Regions from separate parts of the Homo sapiens genome. Here regions 2 and 3 are each linked to region 1. Evidence: promoter capture Hi-C in human tissues and cell types (Jung and others, 2019). All regions are on one chromosome and are shown on one strand. Each heading gives the region's core, a stretch centred on a gene start or on the middle of the fragment in contact. The rest is flanking DNA. Distances are from core to core; before and after follow the strand shown.

The links. Contacts are between HindIII fragments. The study calls those that stand out against the background at their distance.
Region 2: a fragment that was not itself captured here is called in contact with the fragment with the promoter of IFFO2 in region 1 in 1 of the 25 tissues and cell types used here (lymphoblastoid cells).
Region 3: a contact is called between a fragment that was not itself captured here and the fragment with the promoter of IFFO2 in region 1, in 1 of the 25 tissues and cell types used here (liver).

The regions. Positions count from the first base shown.
Region 1 is chr1:18,954,262-18,959,278 of GRCh38, reverse strand. It overlaps IFFO2 (intermediate filament family orphan 2), which reads left to right and starts at 2,603. Exons shown (of 9, transcript NM_001136265.2): 1 at 2,603-3,611. The coding sequence starts at 2,947. RefSeq lists silencers at 2,421-2,590, 3,161-3,420, 3,661-3,850. The HindIII fragment of the contact is 10,098 bases long and covers 1-5,017 here.
Region 2 is chr1:19,170,111-19,175,127 of GRCh38, reverse strand. UBR4 (ubiquitin protein ligase E3 component n-recognin 4) reads left to right here. Exons shown (of 106, transcript NM_020765.3): 21 at 95-174; 22 at 681-809; 23 at 1,507-1,689; 24 at 1,822-1,947; 25 at 2,035-2,264; 26 at 4,245-4,366. Among named protein-coding and RNA genes, the nearest start is that of UBR4, 38 kb to the left of the region's middle. The HindIII fragment of the contact is 4,514 bases long and covers 1-4,167 here.
Region 3 is chr1:19,150,675-19,155,691 of GRCh38, reverse strand. It overlaps UBR4 (ubiquitin protein ligase E3 component n-recognin 4), which reads left to right. Exons shown (of 106, transcript NM_020765.3): 43 at 24-251; 44 at 617-774; 45 at 1,753-1,924; 46 at 2,190-2,391; 47 at 3,216-3,379; 48 at 3,833-4,049; 49 at 4,899-5,017. Among named protein-coding and RNA genes, the nearest start is that of UBR4, 57 kb to the left of the region's middle. The HindIII fragment of the contact is 5,835 bases long and covers 1-4,979 here.

The DNA.
Region 1 (5,017 bases), core at 1,354-3,853:
AAGGAGGGCTGCACACCCCAATTCCAGGGCAACTTTGTTGGAAGGACAGATCCTTCCTGGAAGAGGTTGCAGGGAGCCACTCCCCAGGTGTGACTTCTTAACCCTTTCTCTTCCATGGGACCACTCAGGCATTGGGTGGAGCCTGTGGACCCCTTCTGAGAATAATTTTTTTAAAAAGGCATTAGGATTACTATGAAAAGTCATTTTACTAAAAATAGATATCAAACTATTAACAATTTCTCATATAGTAACATACGTTCTCTTTTACTAATACATTAAATAAGATTTAGTGGTCGGTCTAATATGACTTTAATTTCACAGTTCTCGTAGCTTAGATGATATCTTGAGATGTTTACAATAACTGTAGTGTGTTACATAAATACCTGTGATTTCTACTAGTGACAAAATCACAGGGACATCTACTTGCTGCCTACATTCATAATCAAAGGATATGTTAAAAACCATTGGCTGGGCACGGTGGCTTACGTCTGTAATCCCAGAACTTCGGGAGGTCAAGGTGGGCGGATCACCTGAGGTTGGGGGTTCAAGACCAGCCTGACCAACATAGAGAAACCCCCATCTCTACTAAGAATACAAAAAAATTAGCCGGGTGTGGTGGCGCATGCCTGTAATCCCAGCTACTTGGGAGGCTGAGGCAGGATAATCTCTTGAACCCCGGAGGTGGAGGTTGTGATGAGCCAAGATCGCACCATTGCACTCTAGCCTGGGCAACAAGAGTGAAACTCTGTTTCAAACAAACAAATAAACAAACAGACAACAAAGCCTTTAGAGATTAGTGAGGCTAAAGGTATAACTTTTGTCCACCCCTGTGTCATGGACCCCCCAGAATTCTATCCTCAGTCCTCTTGGGGGTCCATGAACCTCTGCTTCAAGGCAAAGGGGTTTTGATTCCTTAGGTTAGATAAACAAGAACATCATCAAGAGACGAGAGAACGAAGAGTAAAGGGCAGTGTCCAGACTGGGTTGGGTTAAGCAGAGAAAGGTTTCTAGATGAGTGAGTTTCAGAGCTGGGTGTTTAAGGTGAGTCCGTGTTGGCAGGAAGCAAGGAACTGTGGTTGAGGGAAGGAACTATGGGGAAGGTTTGCTTTTGTGGCTAAATCAAAAACACAGCAGACTAACATCACAGCCACATCACTCCAGGGCAAGCCCGTGTCTCCTTTGTCACCAAGAACACCAAGGCATTGTCCATGTAAGACAGTGTGCCTGTCCTCAAGCTTACATACAAAGAGACAAAACAAACACAAAAGTTAATAACAAGACAAAAATTAAACTGCTAGTAAAAAATGCAGTCGGAAGTATCTGAAACATGCCACATATCTGGTTAAGTGCATACAATGCAAGCCACAGGCGTTCAAAGGTGGGGGTTCAAGGTGGGGGTCACCTCCCCTCTGAGGTTTGCGGTGAGGACCAAATGCGGAAATGGACACGAGGCCCGAGGCCAGCATTGTGGAAGGCCGGTTAGAGCATGCACTTTGGACCATTGTGGCTACTTAACGTCTCAGTGACCTTCTCTGTAAAATGGGGATAATAAATAAGTATGGCGCCTGACATATACTAATGTTTGCAACACGGTTCAGGAGACACCAGAGACTGGAGAACTTGGCCTTTAACGTGGTAGGTGTGAAAACATTTGAATGAATGAATGAATGAATGAATGGGTCCTCGGGTTGCCTCGGTCTGCCCCAGGCGGCCCGCTAAGCCCCATGTCTGTGAAATGAATCCCCAGCTCTCGGGGTCAGCTTCATCTCAGCGTGTGGGTGTGGGTGGTGGGGAGGTGCTGAGCAGCTCAGCAGAGGCGAGGCCCAGGCCGAGTTTGTGGGTGTCATCCCGGGAGGGTCTTGCTCGGCCTCCCCAACCCCCATGCTGCTCGGCTCCTCAGTGGGCGGGGGAACCAGCGGGCTTAGCTGTGCCCGGGCCGATCTCGAGAGGACAAGGCCCGCAGCTAGCATTCGAGGAGCCCACCCCCGGGTCCGCAGCGTGGGGCACGGGCGCCCTCTTATCCCCGAAAGGTCGATCTGGGCCTCCCCAGGCTAGAGTGGGGGTGGGGTGCCGATGCACCTTCGGATACTGTGGTCCCCCAGCCCTTCCAGCCGCGGTCGCGCACATCCGAAGGAATTTGGGGCCAGGGGCATTGCGGGCAGAGAGGACAGAGAAACGGAGCCCTCTCGGCAGGCGACGTGGGAGAGGAGCGCCCTAAAAAGTGGAAAGCGAGCGTTGCCGAGGCTGCTGGCCCCTTTAAGAGGCCCGGCTGGCTCTGCGGCGGTTCCAGCTAACCCGGTCCCTGGTGCAGCTCTGCGGTCCGGGTCCCCCAGCAGAGAATCGGCACCCGGCGGGGAGGCAGGACCAGACGCAGGAGAGGGCGTGGCCCCGCCGGGGAGCTGGGCGGAGTCTATGCTGCGGAGAAAGCGGGAGAACCCGGAGGTGGGCGGAGCCGAGGGTCTGTGGGTGGGGCCCGGCGCTGCGGGCCTCGTGGGGCGGAGCCTCGGGCTCGGGGAACGCCGCAGAGGGAGGAGGGGTGGGCGGGGCCGCGGCGGGGGCGGGGCCAGTGTCTGCAGTGGGCGGGGCCCGCCGCAGAAGGGGCAGTGCCGGCCGAGAGTCCTCTGCGTGCGGCTGCCGCGGCCCCTCCACAGCGTCTCTGACAGCCCGGGCGGTGAGACCCGCGACCCTTCTGGCCCCGCGCAGATACCGCGGCCTCCACCGCGTCCCGAGGAGCGGCCGAGTGCCCTCTCTCGCCTCGGCGCCCGCATCCGGGGCCATCCGTCCTGCCGTCTCTGCGGAGGCCGCATCTGGCGCGCATCTGGAACCGCCCGGCCGGCCGCGCTGGAGCCCGCGCCCACCCTGGCCCGGCCGCGCCGGGAGCCCTGCCCGGAGCTGGAGCCGCACCTGGAGCCGCGGGCCCGGGGCCCTGAGCCGCGCAGCCGGCGCATGGTGAACTCGCTGCTGTTCGGGGAGATGGCCTTGGCCTTCGGCTGCCCGCCGGGCGGCGGCGGCGGGGGCTGCCCTGGCGGGGGCGGCGGCGGCGGCGGGGCAGGGCCGGGTCCGTCGCCGGTGACGGCGGCGCTGCGGGACGACCTGGGCTCCAACATCCACCTCTTGAAGGGGCTCAACGTGCGCTTCCGCTGCTTCCTGGCTAAGGTGCACGAGCTGGAGCGGCGCAACCGGCTGCTGGAGAAGCAGCTGGAGCAGCAGCAGAGCGAGCGCGAGCGGCGGCTGCGCTACAAGACCTTCTCCCGCGAGCAGGCCGTGCAGACCGGGCCCGAGTTGCTGCGGCCCCCGGCGCCCGGCGGCGGGCACGGCCTCAGCAGTGGCGCGGCGGCCGGCGCCAACGCCAATGCCGTGGCCCTGGGCGGCCTGCCCCCCGGCGGCGGCTCGCACCCGCAGCACTACGGCCGCCTGCCCGGGACCATCTGGAGCTACACGCAGGTGCGGCGCACGGGCGGCGGCGGCGTGGAGACCGTGCAGGGCCCCGGCGTGTCGTGGGTGCACCCCGACGGCGTGGGCGTGCAGATCGACACCATCACGCCGGAGATCCGCGCGCTCTACAACGTGCTGGCCAAGGTGAAGCGCGAGCGCGACGAGTATAAGCGGAGGTGAGTGGCCGCCCCTCCCCCGCCGCCCTGGGACGGGGCGCCCAGGTCCAGGCTGCCGCGGAATGCGTATGCGGGACGGGGGCCGGGCGGGCAGCTGGTACTGGCAGGTGGGCTGGAAGCTGTGTTTGCAGAGCGTCTTACGTACGCCAGGAAGGCCCAGTTATCTAGATCCCAGGATGGGGGCGGGCGCTGGCTACCGTGGGGGCCACCTCGATGCTGTCACTGGTGAGGCACATTGTTTTCTAGGTGACATAATAACTGTCTGTGTTTTATGCGATCTCATTTAATTCTCAGCACAATACAGCGTATTGTGTAAGGCAGTCTTATCCTCATCTCGCAGATGAGGAAACCGAGGTGCAGAAATGCTAAGTGATTTGCCTAAGGTGGCTTGGCGAGTAAGTGGTGAAACCGGGATTTCAACCAGAGATTTTAACCACTCCTGGCTAGTCTGTCTCCTAGCATAAGTATTTTTACCAAGGAAGTAGGAAATATGCTCCCCTCCCTCAACATATGAAAAGAAAAACTCTAACCAACCCACTGCCTTTTTATTTCTTGAATTAAATGAGATCACGTTTTTGAAAATGGATGGATCTGCCCCTACCCCCTGGGGCCAGTGTCTGCCGTCTTGCTCCAGCTCTGTAAGGTCCAGCTTGCTGGGTTGGATAACCACAACTACAACAGACTGCTCACAAGCTTTTATAAAATGCCTCCTTTCATCCCTCTTCTCCCCACTCCCTGAGTCTCATGGTTTATTGAGCCCTAACAAACTCAGCCTTAAAAGCCCCCAGGAGAAGATAATGTTGGGCTGGAGACTGGACATTGAATGGACTGAGACCACAATCTCTGGCTAGAACTGGGGTCCAGACTCTGCAAGACTGGCCAGTGCATTCCTGCCTAGCCCAGATTCCCCAGCTGGGAAACTGTCATTGCTTCCTGTCTGCAGTCTGGCCGACAATACTGTCTGCTTGGCTTTCCGATAAGAGGAGAGGGGTCTCCTATCCTCCTCCTCTTCCCATAAGAGAAGAAGGGTCTGTCTTTGGCATCTCAGGCCTGGCTGGGGAAGGGGCCCTCTGGCCCTGGCAATCGCTGTTCCAGGCACAGGCAGCCTTCCATTCGGAGCTATTGGCTCTGAACTCCAGGGCTTGGAGGATGTACTGAGAAGGACCCTTCCTTCCATCTCTAAAGGTCTGTCCAGGGAGCTGGGCATAGGTCTCCTTCCGTATTCTCCCATTGGACAGGCTAGCAACTGGGTAGGATTCAAATGCCAGCCTTATACCTGCTGGTGAGATTATCAAATCACTTGAAAGCCTGTTTGCTCATCAGAGAAATGGGAATAATAAAATCTGCCCACAGTTGCTCGAGGAGACAGCAGGATGGTGATGCTCTTTGGGAGGTATAAAGTAATC
Region 2 (5,017 bases), core at 661-3,160, 220 kb before region 1:
CTTATTATAAAGTATTTTCTGAGTTTTACATTGCATACTAGTCAGATAGAGTTAAGAATGGAACCATTCTTTTAATCAGCATATTACTTTTCAGATGCTGTCCCACACCCCAGATTCTACTGTGTCCTGTCCCCAGAAGCCTCAGAGGATGATTTGAACCGACTTGATTCTGTGGTACTAGGAATTTTAAAACTGCATTTTATATGTGGGTCAGATGGTTTCCACCAGAATCAGCCTACTGGGGGGAAAGGGAATGACTGACTTTTTATAGTGAGGAAATGTGGTCTGTGTTACGATTTGAGCTTATTCTAATAGGAAAATGTTACTTGGATATTTATTTGTTGGGTGCACTTTTGCTGTGGGGTTTGTCCTTTCTGGATTGGCACCTCTGACACTTGATTTTTGAAGACAGTCTTTGTTAGCATTTTTCACATGCAAGTATTTTAATGGACAAAAATAATTGTCTTACTCCCTTATTCTAAAGCCAGCAGCTGTGTGCTCACAATAGCTTGCAAACAGTGTGAGTAATGTCCCAGAATGGGAATCTGTTCCAAGGAGAAATTAATGATTATGATTTGATGGGATATTTTGTCAATCATGAGGATAAGTGATAGTGTATAGGCAGTAGGAAAAAATACTTTAAAAGTAAGGAAATGACTCTCTTTCTTTCTTGATGTCAGGCATGTGACGTCCTTTTCTCCAAGCTTGTCAAGTATGATGAGCTTTATGCTGCACTGACAGCCCTGCTTGCAGCTGGGTCCCAGCTTGATACAGTTAGGAGAAAGGAAAACAAGAATGTAACAGCCTTGGTAAGACCATGGAACCCTGAGAAGTCTTTGGGTTGTGTTTGATCATTGATCATTTCTATCAGAAATTTCCTTCTGAAATGTAACCAGTTTATTGAATATTGATTTGCAAAACTGACTGATACTTGAGTATTTCTAGGTAGTTTGTGTAGCTATGTTCACCTTAAAGATAATTTAATCAGCTGTTGCATTTTTTTGGTTACCATTGAGAGAACTGTAATTTAAGAGTTAGTGGTCCCCCCCCAAGTGCTATATCTCCTGTCAATACTGGTTGATGTGTGATATTGAAAGCCTCACGCTTGAGATTTTTCCATGGCTCTGTTAATGTGTCTCTATATTCTAGAAGCAATTCCAGGCCACAAAAACGGATAGCTGATTGCAGGTCTGCTAAGCAGAATGTCCTGCCCTCTTTTGGTTAATTGGTAAATTATTGGGGAGCCAAAGTTGTCTTGGAATAGCCTTTTTGGTCTGTGAAATGTGCAGAATACGGAACAAATTATTTGTATGTGTGTTCTGCCATTTTCTGCTAGGTGCACTCTCTAGAAAGATCTGGAGAATGGACTTGGGGGCCAAATCTCAATTTAAAATCAGGACTCTATACAGTTCTGGTTTAAAAGTTGTATTTGGAGTAGTTCGTACTGTGAGGGAGATCTTGAGGCCATACCAAGTGCTACCTCTATGCTGCTTTTCCTTTCTCCAGGAGGCCTGTGCCCTTCAATATTACTTCTTGATACTGTGGAGGATCCTAGGAATTTTACCACCATCAAAGACTTACATTAACCAGCTATCCATGAACTCACCTGAGATGAGCGAATGTGACATCTTGCACACTCTGCGATGGTCTTCTCGGCTCCGGATCAGCTCCTATGTCAACTGGATAAAGGTAACACAGAGCTTGCTGCTAAGACTATTCAAAGCCAAAGTGCTTTGTGCTTACTGGAGCTTTTAAATTTGAAGATAATGAAAGCTTTGCCTATAGTCATCTCCTAAACACTTTTTCTTGCTGTCCAAATAGGATCACCTTATCAAACAGGGAATGAAGGCTGAGCATGCTAGCTCGCTTCTAGAACTGGCATCCACCACTAAGTGTAGCTCAGTGAAATATGATGTTGAAATAGTAGAGGAATACTTCGCTCGACAGGTATGTAATATTGGAACCTAAATGATAGAACTTGGTTTCTACCATAGCCCATTGCCACAGCTAATTATATTTTGCATATTTTTAAAGATCTCATCCTTCTGTAGTATCGACTGTACCACCATCTTGCAGCTGCATGAAATTCCCAGTCTGCAGTCCATCTACACCCTTGATGCCGCGATCTCAAAGGTCCAGGTCTCTTTGGATGAGCATTTTTCTAAGATGGCTGCTGAGACTGATCCTCATAAGTCGTCTGAGATTACCAAGAACCTACTTCCAGCCACGCTGCAACTCATTGACACCTATGCATCGTTCACCAGGTGTGGCGAACTGCCTGCCCAGAGATGCACATGCACTCTTCACTCCGTGCAGATCCCGCATTGACTCAGAATTTGACATTTTTCTCTTTCTTCAGCTTAGGGGTTTTTTTCCCCACGTATAATGCTTTCTTCTCTAGTATGAAGGGGTGCTTGATGAGGAAATTTTCAAATAGTGCAGGAGGAGTCAGGAGGAAGTTTAATGTCTATAATTCTTTAAATATTTTGTACGATTTTACTCGTAGGATACAGAGAAAGGTAATTTTTCAAAACACTGTCATTTCTGTTATTAACTGAGTTAAAGCTCCTTAAATGCTCTTTATTTATTATTATTAAAAAAATTTTTTTCTGAGATGGCATCTCGCTCTGTCGCCCAGGCTGGAGTGCAATGGTGCGATCTTGGCTCACTGCAACCTCCACCCCCTGGGTTCAAGTGATTCTCCTGCCTCAGCCTCCTGAGTAGCTGGGATTACAGGCATGCACCACCGTGCCTGGCTAATTTTTGTGTTTTTAGTAGAGACGGGGTTTCGCCATGTTGGCCAGGCTGGTCTTGAATTCCTAACCTCAGGTGATCTACCCACCTCAGCCTCCCAAAGTGCTGGGATTACAGGCATGAGCCACTGTGCCTGGCCCTTAAATGCTCTTTACATGTGATGATATGTAGTTGGAGAAAAAAAAAAATCTCTAAATGAGTTAGAAATTATTTGAAATTCAACTCTTTCTATAACAAACACTGCAAATTGCATGCCCTGTAGACTTTGGTCTGTATGATGTTTAAATATTTAAAGTTAATTTCAGTATATAAAATTGGGAGATTATTCACAAGTTTAGATTTCTGGCTTTTCTTAAATTGGAAGAACTGGCAAAACTGGGCCTGACTTCCCAAACAACAGTAACAGACTGGAGCTGAGAATTAGTTCCCTTTGCAGCAGTTTTCACCGGGCTCTCTTAAGCTTATTGACTTTATCTGGTCCCTGTAGGATCTCAGTGTTCACTCCTGTTCTATGGTGCTTTTTTGTTTTGAGATGGAATCTCACTGTGTCACCCAGGCCGGAGTGCAGTGGTGCGATCTCATCTCACTGTAACCTCCACCTCCTGGGTTCAAGTGATTCTCCTCAGTTTCCCGAGTGGCAGGGATGACAGGTGCATACCACCATGCCTGGCTAATTTTTGTATTTTTGTATTTTCAGTAGAAATGGGGTTTCTCCATGTTGGCCAGGCTGGTCTTGAACTCCCGACCTCAGGTGATCCACCTGCCTCAGCCTCCCAAAGTGCTGGGATTACAGGTGTGAGCCACCGTGCCCAGCTCTGTGGGCTTTATGCTGCTTTAAAGGGACCTAGATCTTTGTCAGACTTAACTAACCTTGTCTCTTAGTATGACTGCCTTGCAGAAGATAGAGGGCTGTTGTTTGAGGCAAATTTTTTTTTTGGCTCAAATTTGTTTGAGCCAAACAAATATGTATGGCTGCTACGTGCCAGGTACTTTTCTAGGTGCTAGGGTTATGGCAGTAGCCAAAGCAGACCAAGTCATTGCCCTCTGGGAATTTACAGACTCTAATCTGGCCTAATAGGCCAGTACTTTCCACACTGAGCTGTTAACGTTCCTGGTCAAGTAAGTTTGCAAAATGTTGGATAAACAGTTTTTTTTGTTTTGTTTTGTTTTAAAAAATATAGTATTCAGAGCCTTTACTGTATACATTGTCAATCTTCTGAGGTGGGGAAGGAGGATAGATATAGTATTCACTGTTTCTCAGGCTTACTTGTCAGGCAGTCATGTTTTGGGAGCATTTCAGAGGAGGGGACATTCTTTGGGAAATGATTACCCATTGGAATTCTTAGAGACCAGGAAGGGGCAGGCACTATCAACTACATTAAATAGATAGGAAACTGAGATATAGGGTTTTCAGCCAGTCTAGGGCCAGTTTTTCCTAACTGGTGGGATTAGAATCTTATGGCTTCACTTTCCCCCTGTTTTTTCCCCAGAGCCTATTTGCTGCAAAACTTTAATGAAGAGGGAACAACTGAGAAACCTTCCAAGGAGAAACTGCAAGGCTTTGCTGCTGTTTTGGCTATTGGCTCTAGCAGGTGCAAGGCAAATACTCTGGGTAAGAGAACAAATGTGCTTTTGAGTAATATTATTACAACAGCTACTACTGCTAGTACTATGGCTTCTCTCCCTTGGTGCCTACTGGCGTTTACTATTTATTGGAGCCTTTTTGTGTATCAAGCATTTAGGTAGGTTTGTCTATTTTGATCTTCACAATAACCCAAGAAGTGTTACTTTGATCCCCTTTTTACTCATTATAAATTAGGCCTAGAGAAGTTATTTGTCCACAATCCTGCATCTTGCAAGAGATAGAGCTGGGATCCAAACCAGGATCTGTTGGTTCCAAAGCATAAGGCTATTTTGTCTTTAGCACAGATCTTTGCTCTCCTCCCCTCCCCTCCCCACTCTCTTCTCTCTTCTCTTGGCAGGGTCTTGCCCTGTCACCCAGGCTGGAGTACAGTGGCGCTATCGCAGCTCACTGCGGCCTTCATCTCCTGTGTTGAAGCAGTCCCCCTGCCGCAGCCTCCCAAGTAGCTGGGATCCCAGGCACATAATACCATACCCGTATAATTTTTAAATTTTTTTGTAGAGATGAGGTCTTCCTATGTTGCCCAGGCTGGTGTTCTTTTCATTTATAGGGGACAGGAAGATTAGCAAGCTAGTACTTTGTGCCTGGAAAAATCTCTTTGCTGGGTTAGGAATGATCTGG
Region 3 (5,017 bases), core at 813-3,312, 200 kb before region 1:
TTAATTTTTCTTCCATCCTGCAGATTTATGACCTGTGTGTTGATGCCTTGAGTCCAACCTTCTATTTTCTCCTGCCAAGCTCAAAGATAAGAGATGTTACCTTCCTTTTCAATGAGGAGGGAAAGAACATCATTGTTATAATGTCTTCGGCTGGGTACATCTATACTCAGCTTATGGAAGAGGCCAGCAGTGCCCAGCAGGGACCCTTCTATGTCACTAATGTGTTGGAAATCAATCATGAGGACCTGAAGGTTAGAGCACATGTTGCTATTTCCTTCTATTCCGGATTTAATTATTTAGCAACTCCTCTATTCTTTTTTCTTTGTTCTTTTATAACATTTTTCTGTGGACTTCATCTAACTGGATCTTTTTTTCTTTTTCTTTGTTTTTCCATCTAACTTTCTACCTAATAGCAAACTCTCTTATCCTTTAGGGCTAAATTAATTCAACTTCAAGTTCCATTTTTCTCAGGGTCTTTGTAAGATTTACCCACAGGGATCTCATGCTTAGAGTATGAGAGCACCTGATCATGATTGAAAATAATAACCAGTATAAACCGGAAGTTGGTAGCCAAGGCAACATGAATTACTGCAAATATGTGTCTTTGTGCCAGCAGGACAGTAACAGCCAGGTGGCGGGCGGTGGTGTGTCCGTGTACTACTCCCACGTGTTGCAGATGTTGTTCTTCAGCTATTGTCAAGGCAAATCATTCGCAGCCACCATCAGCAGGACAACCCTGGAGGTGTTGCAACTCTTCCCCATCAACATCAAAAGGTGGGAATGAACATTTAATGTTCAACTTCCGCAATGTCCACATTCAATGTGGGATCTCCACTCCCACTATCTGCTATCTGTTCTGAGTTTTGTGAAACTTAATTTTCTCCAGCCAACCTTTTTTTCTCCCCTGCTAGGTATCTTTAAAATCAAGGAACATCCGGGTTTGGCAGGTTGGGTTGTCTGCACGGTTTGTCCTCCACTGTGGAGACCCCAAGCTGTCAGAGGTAGTTTAGGGGTCCACTGTTACTCAGAAGGAAAACCTATAGTTAATGTTATAAATGTGATTTTAATGTGAGAAGGGAACCTAAATTTCTCTTAGACACTCATTCTGCCATAATGCCCTTTAAGTTTTTCTCCTGGGGAGACTTACTCTGTTAGCAAATAGAACGTATCAGTAATGGGGGCATGGTTGGATATGGGGGAGGAAGAGACTTTCAACAAGTTTGCAAATAATAGAGGGGTGTGTAAGGTAGTGAGAGTTTCATTTAGGGAGGAGGAAGAAGAGGCTTATGGTGTCTTCCCTTGTTTCTTATCTGCCATTGATGACCCATTGTAGCACTTTCTCTCAGACCTTTCTTTGGGAATTACATGGTTTGGGATGAAATAAAATGGATACCAGTTCACACTAACTCGATGTGTTTGGAGATCCTGATAGGACAATGGGTCATTAGCCTTAGGCAGCTCCATGGCCCTCTGCAGTTGATAGCCTCTAGGCACATAGGGCCACCTGTTCTTCGGACATGGAACCTCACAGTGGAGACTCCAAATGAGGACTGCCCTGCCATAAGCACGCATTGGGGTGTATGAGCATGTGTGCATGGCTTGGAATAAAACTAACCTGTGGATAATCTGAGTCCCTGGCCAAGGATATTGCTTTGGAGTCACGTAGCCAGTTAGAGGATGGTTTTTAGGTCAAGAAAAGAACTATTAAATGGTGACTGACACTCTAACTGTGGCCAGTTTTGTTGTCTGCAGTTCCAATGGTGGCAGTAAGACTTCTCCTGCTCTTTGCCAGTGGTCTGAGGTGATGAACCACCCTGGCTTGGTGTGCTGTGTCCAGCAAACTACAGGGGTGCCGCTGGTAGTTATGGTGAAACCAGACACTTTTCTTATCCAGGAGATTAAGACTCTTCCTGCTAAAGCGAAGGTCAGTGCCAGATTTTCCCATTCATTACTTTGCTGTGAACCTGGTCTCTTTTTATGTTTGTATATTCATTTCACTTTCCCAGCTCTTTCAATGGAGGCCCATAAAAGATTTTCAGTCCTTTTTCTTCTAGATGCCTTTTCTTTGCCACCCTTCTGTACAGCCCCTCAACTGACCATGAAACCAGTTGCATCTCTGCCTCTTTTTCTGTGAGGATGCTGATCTGTGGGTGTGGGAACGAAGACCCTCCTTTGTCCTCTCCTCCTAGATCCAAGACATGGTTGCTATTAGGCACACGGCCTGCAATGAGCAGCAGCGGACAACAATGATTCTGCTGTGTGAGGATGGCAGCCTGCGCATTTACATGGCCAACGTGGAGAACACCTCCTACTGGCTGCAGCCATCCCTGCAGCCCAGCAGTGTCATCAGCATCATGAAGCCTGTTCGAAAGCGCAAAACAGCTACAATCAGTAAGGCTCCTTCTCAGATGACTTGTGGGGGAGTAGGAATGGTGGTCTTCTAGACAGTGACTCAGAATAGACTGTTGAAAATATCTGTGAAGAAATGTGACTGTCCTACTTGCACATTTTGTAAAGTTAATTTCCCAAAAGCAGAGTTATGTTTCCAAATGTCAAGCACCCATTGGCTGCCTGTTTCAGGCCAGCAGTTCTTTGGTGCCTAGTAACGAGTTATGTCCTGGACCTTATTTGAGAGATTGTTCTCTCTAGGTTTAGGAGAATGACTTCCCTGAAGAACTGATTGAAGTATAGACCTCTTCAGCTGGTTAATTTCCCACTGAGTAGTGAAGAGCCCACCACAGGTCTCTGAGCTGGTGGTCTAGCACTTGACTGACTCAGGACTCTTCAGGAAAGTGAAAGCTTGAGTTTAGCAGTGAGCAAATCCAGCTAAGCAAAGACCATTACAGGGATCATCACATTACCTTAAATTTGCTCTACAGTCTATTTTGAAAGAATGGTTTATTCATTTACATTCATTAAAGAAGTAGCTCCTATTGTTTATTTTAAATAACCCAGTTACAGGAGAGCCTATTGTTATTAGCTGTACACCCAATACCAATGCCAGATTTCTTGGTATTGCTAGGACATGTCATAGTTAGGGATAACAACCATTGGAGAGCTAACCACATGTAGGCATCATGCCGATGCAAATGTTATAATCCAGAGTTTGCTTAGATTAGAGTGTGAGTGTGGGCTCTGTCTGGGAGGAGTCTTTACCAGTGGTGTTGGGGCAGAGGTGGGAGAGACTCTTGACGATCTGGTACCGTTCTCTGCAGCAACCCGCACGTCTAGCCAGGTGACTTTCCCCATTGACTTTTTTGAACACAACCAGCAGCTGACAGATGTGGAGTTTGGTGGTAACGACCTCCTACAGGTCTATAATGCACAACAGATAAAACACCGGCTGAATTCCACTGGCATGTATGTGGCCAACACCAAGGTAAGAATGGCACTGGGCTGGGATCAATCCCTGGGTAGAAGGACTCAAACAATATGGTTTGAGAACACATCTCCTTTTAGAAAGCAAGTATAGAGTATATACTCACAGTCACAACCCTCGGTTCTAGTTAAATGGTTCCTTAGAAAAATGGATATTCTTACTCACTTGGCAAAGGACTTGTACAGGTTGGGTTTCCACCAATACCAGCAGGATTACTGTGTAGAGGACATCAAAGAGGTGGTTAATACTGGGGAGAAGGAAGCCTGACATTGAAGAGAATCTGCTCTCTTTTCCTATTTTCCCATTTTTAGAAACAAGGAAGTCATTACCAGGGAGTTAAAAGGATAAGTTTTAATGAGCTTCACATGTTGAGACAATGTCAGAGAAGAAGGAGTCCTAGTTAAAACTTAAGAACTTCTGTAGTTTCTTGATGTGTGCCTTGTCTCCCTACAGCCCGGAGGCTTCACCATTGAGATTAGTAACAACAATAGCACTATGGTGATGACAGGCATGCGGATCCAGATTGGGACTCAAGCAATAGAACGGGCCCCGTCATATATCGAGATCTTCGGCAGAACTATGCAGCTCAACCTGAGTCGCTCACGCTGGTTTGACTTCCCCTTCACCAGAGAAGAAGCCCTGCAGGCTGATAAGAAGCTGAACCTCTTCAGTGAGTCACCAACCCCTGGTGCAGACTCTGTCCTCATTGTGACTGCGAAATTGGGAGCCACTGGCCTGTGGCTGTCCAACATTCTGGGATCTCTCCACTCTGCTGATTTTTCTGTCCTTTCATCAGGAAACTTTGAGCTTCATTTGATGTATTAAAGAGGCAAGGTGACAGGAAAGGAGTACACCGGAGCATGGTAGCAGTAAAGATAGGGCTGCACTGTGTTGAGTATTCATTTCAATAGTGTTGTGTCCACCTCACTAATGGGGCTACTTCTGTGTTTAGGCCGAGAGGAGGCAGATTGACATGAAATTGCAAGGCTTTCTTAACGCACAGAGGAAGACCTCAGGTCACACATGGCTGAGAGATGGTTGGCAATGGCTTGCTATGCCACTGAAAACTAAACTCTCAGAATACAAATCCTTGAGCCTTACTCAAGACTGCATTTCTCTGTCATTTATTGGCCACTGTCTGATATTCTTTCTTCTAGATATAGTTGCTGTTAGTGTGAATGATCATGATCTGTACTTTGAACAAAGAAAGTGTGTAGAGACCCCTGGGAGTGAGGGGTAGGGGATACAATACTCTGAAGCAGAAGAGGACCCTTGCAGTGATGGTTAGGGACTCTTCTGAGTAGGAGACGTAATCGGCTTTTGGTCCATGGAACTTTTACCACATGTATTCAGCATATATACACGATTAAAGTGCTGCAAATATCTCAGAAGATAAAGTTTCTCTATGTCTATAAAATTGACGTGATTTACTTCTTTGCTCCAACTGTTCTGGTCTTTGCTTTGGAGGGGTGGCTTTTTAGAGAATGTGCTTCCTAAAGGCCTCTCTTGCTTATTGCAGTTGGGGCCTCGGTGGATCCAGCAGGTGTCACCATGATAGATGCTGTAAAAATTTATGGCAAGACTAAGGAGCAGTTTGGCTGGCCTGATGAGCCCCCAGAAGAATTCCCTTCTGCCTCT